Linked DNA regions of Homo sapiens: regions 1 and 2 are each linked to region 3. The links are contacts of gene promoters, found by promoter capture Hi-C in human tissues and cell types (Jung and others, 2019). All regions are on one chromosome and are shown on one strand. The core of a region is centred on a gene start or on the middle of the fragment in contact, and the rest is flanking DNA. Distances in the headings are between cores, read along the strand shown. Region 1 holds the start of TSKS (testis specific serine kinase substrate). Region 2 overlaps TSKS (testis specific serine kinase substrate). Region 3 holds the start of RCN3 (reticulocalbin 3).

Region 1 (2,700 bases), core at 201-2,700, 240 kb before region 3:
CAGGAAGAAGTACTTTCTCCCTGGGGATAACAGCATTTAAAATGTCTATTAGCAGTGATGTTTGAACTAGTCTTTTTGAGAAGTGTGAAGAGAACAGGAAAAGTCTGTCCCTAAATAGCAGGGCAGTGCTCGCTTCGACAGCACATGTATTAACATTGGAACGATACAGAGAAGATTAGCATGGGCCCTGCGCAAAGACCACATGCAAATTTGTGACATGTTCCATATATTTTTTAAATACTTTGGGCGGGCGGGGCGCAGTGGCTCACACCTGTAATTCCAATGCTTTGGGAGGCTGAAGTGGGCAGATCACGAGGTCAGGAGTTGGAGACTAGCCTAGCCAACACAGTGAAACCCTGTCTCTACTAAAAATACAAAAAAAAAATTAGATGGGTGTGGTGGCAGGTACCTGTAGTCCCAGCTACTCAGGAGGCTGAGGCAGGAGAATCGCTTGAAACTGGGAGGTAGAGGTTGCAATGAGCCAAGATCACGCCACTGCACTCCAGCCTGGGTGTCAGAGCGAGACTCCATCTAAAAAAAAAAAAAAAAAATTATAGCGGAGCATGGTGGCTCATGTCTGTAATCCCACACTTTGGGAGGCTAAGGCGGGTGGACCATTTGAGGTCGGGAGTTTGAGACCAACTTGGCCAACATGGTGAAACCCGTCTCTACTAAAAATACAAAAATTAGCCGGACATTGTGGCCAGCGCCTGTAGTCCCAGCTACTGGGGAGGCTGAGGCAGGAGAATCGGTTGAACCCCGGGAGGTGGAGGTTGCAATGAGCTGAGATCGCGCCACTGAACTCCAGCCTCCATGACAGAGAGAGACTCTGTCTCAAAAAAAATAAAAAGTATTAAAGAAAATAATAAATAAATAAACGGGGGAGGGGGATACCACCCTCTGTCCTGCCCCAACTCTCTACCTTCCTCTCCTCCCTCACCTTCTACCCTGACCCCGAGGCCCACCGCACCTAGCTTTCTTTTGTTGATCTACCTGTATATTGCCTTTCCCCCGACCCCGACGCCCCATAGAATATGAGACCCTCCAGGTCAGGGTCTGGATCTCAGCCCTCTTCGACCACAGTCTCTCAAACCCCAGCCAATTGTCAAATCCAGGAAGCTACATGAAGAATCAAGAACAAGTGCACAGGGCTGTGTGACCCCACGCTTAGTCTCAGGGAGAGGGAAGTTGGACCTCTCCCAAGAATCCGTGGGCCGACCCATTGTTAAGTTACAGGCTAGCATGAATCCATCCACTGGAGCTCTGAAGACGGGGGGCACATTGGGCATGTAACTAGAATCCTGAACAGGAGGAGTCCACTGAGAACCCTAGGGGAATGACCTGGGCCAGCATCTCTCCCTACCCTGTGCCCCCCACTCACTGGGGCCCAGTGGTTGGGTCCTTTGTGAGGCAGGCTGAGGGGACAGTGGATCCTGAGGGTCTGTGGTCACAGTAGGTAGGAAGTCTCAGAGGAAGGAGCCCCTCCCTGGGAGCCAGACCCCCACACCATGGCGAGCGTGGTGGTGAAGACGATCTGGCAGTCCAAAGAGATCCATGAGGCCGGGGACACCCCCACGGGGGTGGAGAGCTGCTCCCAGCTAGTCCCAGAGGCTCCCCGGAGGGTGACCAGCCGGGCCAAGGGGATCCCGAAGAAAAAGAAGGCCGTGTCGTTCCACGGGTGGGTTTGTTGCACACTGTCAGGGATGGTTCTAATGCCCAGCACTACCTCCAACAGAGCAGGAGTCCGACTGTGGGTGCTAGAGGAAGGGGAGGGGGAAAAGCCAGCAGGTCGGGGGCAGGAAAGAGGGCAGCAGTGAAGAGACATCAAGTCACAGGGAGGTAGAGAGGAAGAAGGTAATGGGGATGGATGGAGGGAGGAAGAAGGTAATGGGGATGGATGGAGAGAGGAAAAAGCCAGTGGGGAGGGAAGAAGGAGAAGGGAGGCTAGTGAATGAAGAAGAAAGTAGGTGGCAGAGAAGGGAGGAGAAAGTAGGCAGCGGGGAAGGAGAAGAAGAAAGTAGACAGTGGTGGTCGGGCACGGTGGCTCACGCCTGTAATCCCAGCACTTTGGGAGGCCGAGGCAGGTGGATCATGAGGTCAGGAGTTCAAAACCAGCTTGGCCAACATGGTGAAAAGCCATCTCTACTAAAAATACTAAAATTAGCTGGGCGTGATGGCACATGCCTATAACCCCAGCTACTCAGGAGGCTGAGGCAGGAGAATTGCTTGAACTGGGACCCGCAGTCGGAGGTTGCAGTGAGCTGAGATCGCGCCACTGCACTCCAGCCTGGGCAACAGAGTGAGACTCTGTCTCAAAAAAAAAAAAAAAAGAAAGAAAGAAAAAAGAAAGAAAGTAGGCAGCACAGGGAAGGAGAATAAAGTAGGCAGCGGGGACAGAGAAGGGAGAAACTTATATACAGTGAGGGTGGAGTCACAGGGGGTGAGGTATGGAGAAAGGAAGGCAGGAGGGCCCAGACACCCTGGGGCTGCTTCTCCACTTTTCTGCCTGTTTCTTCTCTGCAGGGTGGAGCCCCAGATGTCCCATCAGCCCATGCACTGGTGCCTGAACCTCAAACGGTCCTCGGCCTGCACCAACGTGTCACTGCTCAACCTGGCCGCCATGGAGCCCACTGACTCCACGGGGACAGACTCCACAGTGGAAGACCTCAGCGGCCAACTCACACTGGCTGGGCCCCCTGC
Region 2 (2,700 bases), core at 94-2,593, 220 kb before region 3:
TAGGGGGCAGTCCCAGGATTTGTGGGAGGAGGTCAGATGCACGAGGGACTCAAGATACACTTTTAGGTGGAACTCCCTGCCCCGACACCACCACCACACTGCACCTTCGTGCACATAGTCATCCTTAGAACTCGCTGATAAGAGGGATTCAAATGAGGCTCCAACACCCAGATGGGGGACTCTTGCCCTGCAGTCACATTCAGGTCCCAGAAAGAGAATCGAGCTGGACTTCAGGTGAGAAGGCCCGTCCTGTCCACATGCCCACTCATTTTCCAACAAAATGCTGAGAAAGCTTCAGTTGTTCTTGCCAAGTGGCCGGGACTGGTATTTGACGCCTGGAGGGCTTGGAGGGCCGGGTGGATACCTGGAGGCAGGCTGTGGGAGGTTAGCGGGAATTGGAGTCCAACTGGGCCTCAAATGGTGCCTCCCCTCCCTAATGACAGCCAGTGAGACTTCCAACATACTGTCCCCACAGGCGTTCTACTTCCAATCTCGGGGAGTACTGGAGCGGATTTTGGGGTGGAGGTGGTTGCGGGAGGAAAGCGGCTGGACGCTGTGACCCCGTCCTCCCTTACCACCCAGGAGAAGCTGCGCTACCTCCAGCAGCAGCTGCAGGATGAGACGCCGCGACGGCAGGAGGCCGAGCTGCAGGAGCCGGAGGAGAAGCAGGAGCCGGAGGAGAAGCAGGAGCCGGAGGAGAAGCAGAAGCCGGAGGCTGGCCTCTCCTGGAACAGCCTGGGCCCCGCCGCCACGTCCCAGGGCTGCCCCGGCCCGCCAGGGAGTCCCGACAAACCCTCGCGGCCACACGGCCTGGTCCCCGCAGGCTGGGGAATGGGGCCTCGGGCTGGCGAGGGCCCCTACGTGAGCGAGCAGGAATTGCAGAAGCTGTTCACCGGCATCGAAGAGCTGAGGTGGGCGGGACCTAGGGGCGGAGCCTCGAAAACGAGATCGGCGGGGACTCAGGGGTGGAGCCTCGAGGAGATGCGGTGGGCGGGACCCAAGGGACGGGGGTTCTCAAGTAGCTGAGGTGGGCGGTGACATGGGTGGAGCCTCGGGGACCTGAGGTGGGCGGGAACATGGGAGGAGCCTCGAGGAACGAAGGTGGGTAGAGACACGGGAGGAGTCTCCAGGAGCTGCGGTGGGCGGGGACACAGGGGAGGTTCCTCAAAGATCGTTTTTTGTTTTGTTTTGTTTTTTTTGAGGCGGAGTCTCGCTTGTCGCCCAGGCTGGAGTGCAGTGGCGCCGTCTTGGCTCACTGCAAGCTCCGCCTCCCGGGTTCACGCCATTCTCCTGCTTCAGCCTCCCCAATAGCTGGGACTACAGGCGCCCGCCACCACGCCTGGCTATTTTTTTGTATTTTTAGTAGAGACGGGGTTTCACCGTGTTAGCCAGGATGGCCTCGATCTCCTGGCCTCGTGATCCGCCCGCCTCGGCCTCCCAAAGTGCTAGGATTACAGGCGTGAGCCACCGCGCCCGGCCTAGATCTTAACCGGAAGGCGACAAGGCTGGGGTCTCCAAGAGCAGAGGAGGGAGTGCCCCGAAGGCAGTGACCTGAGCAAGGGAGGGACAGAATAAGGAACTTTTTAGTTCTGGGCTGCTGGGAGGCAGGTCCAGGCCTGGTGAAACTGAGGTGGGCGGGGCTTAGGAGAGGAGTGGTCCTGGAGGCACCACGTGGGGCAGAGTAGGGTGGGCAGTGCCTTGGGGGGCCAGTGTCTGGAGGAGCCCAGGTAGAGGTTGGGGACCTGACCAGGAAAGGGCCAAGATAGCCAATAAAGGAAGGGGATAAAGGCGGGGCTCTGGAGGACACGACCAAATTTCACCAAATGGAGGGTGCAATAAAATTTGGTGACCTGGGTGGGTCTGGAGCCACGGGCATGGTCTCAGTGGGGCGAGATAGGTGAGTCCTGTCCCACCTATCTCGTGGGGGTAGGTGGGGACCTGTTGAAGCCTAGCCCCTACCCATTCCCCTCCTCTGCCCCTCCAGGAGAGAGGTGTCCTCACTGACCGCCCGGTGGCATCAGGAGGAGGGGGCGGTGCAGGAAGCCCTGCGGCTGCTCGGGGGCCTGGGCGGCAGGGTCGACGGCTTCCTAGGCCAGTGGGAGCGGGCACAGCGCGAACAGGCACAGACGGCGCGGGACTTGCAGGAGCTGCGAGGTCGGGCGGATGAGCTGTGCACCATGTGAGGATTGGGGCCAGTGCATGGGAAGACCGGAAGGGGCAGGGCAATCCCAACCTGAGGGCGGGGTCTTGAGGGAAATGGGTAGGCCAATCAGCTATGGCCAGGCATTCCGGAACATATACCGACATCGGGAAACACCAATTAGAGAGCAGGAAGGGTTGCATCAGCCCTAATAAGGCCTGAGGGGTGGAATCAATTAGAGAAGGGGTGTGGTCTATACCTTAAAAGGGCAAAGGGTGGGGTCAAGTGGGATCCGAGAAAATCAATTAAGAGAACTAGGAGGGGCATTCCAAACAGTAATCTACAAAAGGTGGCCCAGTGAGGTGGCTCACATCTATAATCCCAGCACATTGGGAGGCCGACGTGGGCGGATTACTTGAGGCCAGGAGTGCAAGACAAGCCTGGGCCACATAGCGGAGACCCCATCTCTACAAACAATTTAAAAATTAGCTGGGAGTGGTGTGGTGTCGCACCCTGGTAGTCCTAGCCACTCGGGAGGCTGAGGCAGGAGTGATCGCTTG
Region 3 (2,700 bases), core at 36-2,535:
GAGGGGAGATGTCTGGGACAAAAGAATAAGGAGCGCTTAGGGGGCAGAATCTAACCCAGATTTTGCTGCCCTCAAAGGTCCTCTTTTTTATTGTTGTTGTTGTTTTTTAGACGGAGTCTCACTTTGTCGCCCTGACTGGAGGGCAGTGGTGCAATTTTGGCTCACTGCAACCTCCACCTCCCAGGTTCAAGCGATTCTCCTGCCTCAGCCTCCCGAGTAGCTGGGATTACAGGTGCCCACCACCACGCCTGCCTAATTTTGTATTTTTAGTAGAGACGGGATTTCACCATGTTGGCCAGGCTGTTCTCGAACTCCTGACCTCAAGTGATCGGCCTGCCTTGGCCTCCCAAAGTGCTGGGATTACAGGCATGAGCCACCACGCCCGGTCTCAAAGGTCCTCTTTAGGCCTCAATTTTAACTTAATTTCTTTTTCCCAAGGATAGAAGGTAGAATTTCATTTCTCACAAAGAAATGAAGTTCAGTCCACGCCATTTCTCTGACCCCTGTCGATACCCCCGCGTCTCTCTCCTAAGCCCCACCTCTGGACACGCCCCAACCGAATGTCTCTCTTACCCCAGACGGGCCTGGCTTTCCTCTGGGGTGAGTTGGTCGAATTCCTTGGCCACTTCCCGTCCCAGGAAAGCCTCATGGTCGTACTGGAAGTTCCCGTGGGCGTCATCATGGGGAGCGTCGCTCAGGGGGGCCGCCTGGTGCACCCTCCCCTGGCCATGAGGGCCTGCGTCTGGGGATGGCTTCCCCTGGGCCCCGTGCCTCAGTAGCAACAGAAGCAGCAGAACTGATGGTCGCCACATCATCGGTCCCTGGGGAGTGGCAAAGGCCAGGGGTCAGGGGTCACAGGGATGGGGACAGACACGGGATAGGAGAATGGCGGGGTGGAGGGGTTACCTAGGACAGGACAGGGAGTTGGAAGTTGGCTGCAAGCTTTCGGGCTCAAAAAGGGCGGGCGATGGGGGAAAAGAGGGCGGGATGCTTAGAGGTAAAGCCACCTATGGGGAGGACCGAATCTTCTGACGGAGTCTCAGGGGGGTCCCAGACCTGCCAGGGGGAATTACAGAGACAGACGTGGCGCACATCCCACGCAAGGTGCAGGGCATAGTTGTGGCCAGCGAGAGGTCAGGCAGGCTCCCCGTCATTGCTCCCAGTCCGGACCCTGGTCCTCGACCCGAGCCGCCCTCCCTGGACAGAGGCCCCCCACCCACTCCCTTTACCCTGTTATCCAGCTTCGCTCCGCTCTCCACGCTCCGCTCTGCGTTCCCGCAAATGTGCCCAATTCGGCCGCTCTCCAGTCAGGCCCCGCCTCTGGCAGCGCAGAGCCCCGCCCCCCGCCCAATGAGCTCGCACGAGCGTCTCACGGGGCGGGGCCAATGAGTGCACGGGGTGCCGCGGGCACTCCTCGCCACGTCCACAAAGGAAACCGCGGCCTGCCCGGGGAAGAAGGGTGGGCGACACCGCAGTGACGCGGCCGGGGAGAACTACAACTCCTGGCAGTCGTCGCGGCACTCTGCCGTCCACCTCCAGCTGTTCTAGTCACAACGCCTCACGGGAAATGTATTTTTCCCTTTCCCTTTGTCAGGATGGTTTAAGAAAGAGGTGTACGTTCCAACACTTCTATACCAAACAAAACAAAACAAAACAAAAATAAACAAAAAGAACGAAAGAAAAGAAAAAAGGCCGGGCGCGGTGGCTCACGCCTGTAATCCCAGAACTTTGGGAGGCCGAGGCGGGCGGATCGCCTGAGGTCGGGAGTTCGAGACCAGCCTGATCAACACGGAGAAACCCCATCTCTACTAAACATACAAAATTAGCCGGGTGTGGTGGCGCATGTCTTTAATCCCAGCTACTTTGGGAGGCTGAGGCAGGAGAATTGCTTGAACCTGGGAGGCGGAGGTTGTGGTGAGCCGAGATCGCACCATTGCATTCCAGCCTGGGCAACAAGAGCGAAACTCCGTCTCAAAAAAAAAAAGAAAGAAAAGAAAAGAAAAGAAAAGGGAGAGCAGAATCAAGGGGCCGGAGGAAATATCCCATTTCCTCCAAGAGTGAACACTGCTCCTCGCTCCTCTTCGGCTCCAAGGATTCAGGTGGTCAGACAGTAGCCAAGAATTCCTCAAAATGCCTGGCATGGCAGTCATCCAGTAAATATTTGTAAAAGTTATGAATTAAAAATACATGACCTCAGGTTGAGCACAGTAGCTCAATGCCTGTAATCCCAGAACTTTGGGAAGCTGAGGCAGGTGGATCACCTGAGGTCAGGAGTTCCAGACCAGCCTGACCAACATGGTGAAACCCCGTCTCTACTAAATACAAAAAATTAGCCGGGTGTGGTGGTGCATGCCTGTAATCCCAGCTACTTGGGAGGCAGGAGAATTGCTTGAACCTGGGAGGCGGAGGTTGCAGTGAGCTGAGATCACGCAATTGTACTCCAGTCTGAGCAACAAGAGCAAAACTCTGTCTTAAAAAAAAAAAAAAAAAGTGACCTTAGGCCGGGCGCGGTGGCTCACACTTGTAATCCCACCCCTTTGGGAGGCAGAGGCGGGTGGATCATGAGGTCAGGAGATCGAGACCATCCTGGCTAACATGGTGAAACCCCGTCTGTACTAAAAATACAAAAAATTAGCCAGGCATGGTGGCAGGCGCCTGTAGTCCCAGCTACTCGGGAGCCTGAGGCAGGAGAATGGCGTG

What was found. Contacts are between HindIII fragments. The study calls those that stand out against the background at their distance.
Region 1: the fragment with the promoter of TSKS here is called in contact with the fragment with the promoter of RCN3 in region 3 in 2 of the 25 tissues and cell types used here (dorsolateral prefrontal cortex and small bowel).
Region 2: a contact is called between a fragment that was not itself captured here and the fragment with the promoter of RCN3 in region 3, in 1 of the 25 tissues and cell types used here (dorsolateral prefrontal cortex).

The regions. Positions count from the first base shown.
Region 1 is chr19:49,762,056-49,764,755 of GRCh38, reverse strand. It overlaps TSKS (testis specific serine kinase substrate), which reads left to right and starts at 1,450. Exons shown (of 11, transcript NM_021733.2): 1 at 1,450-1,678; 2 at 2,524-2,700. The coding sequence starts at 1,509. It also overlaps the pseudogene RNU6-841P. RefSeq lists an enhancer at 2,697-2,700. The HindIII fragment of the contact is 39,317 bases long and covers 1-2,700 here.
Region 2 is chr19:49,744,681-49,747,380 of GRCh38, reverse strand. TSKS (testis specific serine kinase substrate) reads left to right here. Exons shown (of 11, transcript NM_021733.2): 6 at 583-911; 7 at 1,985-2,179. Among named protein-coding and RNA genes, the nearest start is that of TSKS, 17 kb to the left of the region's middle. RefSeq lists enhancers at 174-693, 694-1,213. The HindIII fragment of the contact is 5,825 bases long and covers 1-2,700 here.
Region 3 is chr19:49,526,588-49,529,287 of GRCh38, reverse strand. RCN3 (reticulocalbin 3) reads right to left here and starts at 1,285. Exons shown (of 7, transcript NM_020650.3): 1 at 1,230-1,285; 2 at 574-821. The coding sequence starts at 815. RefSeq lists a silencer at 1,208-1,327 and an enhancer at 791-1,369. The HindIII fragment of the contact is 21,368 bases long and covers 1-2,700 here.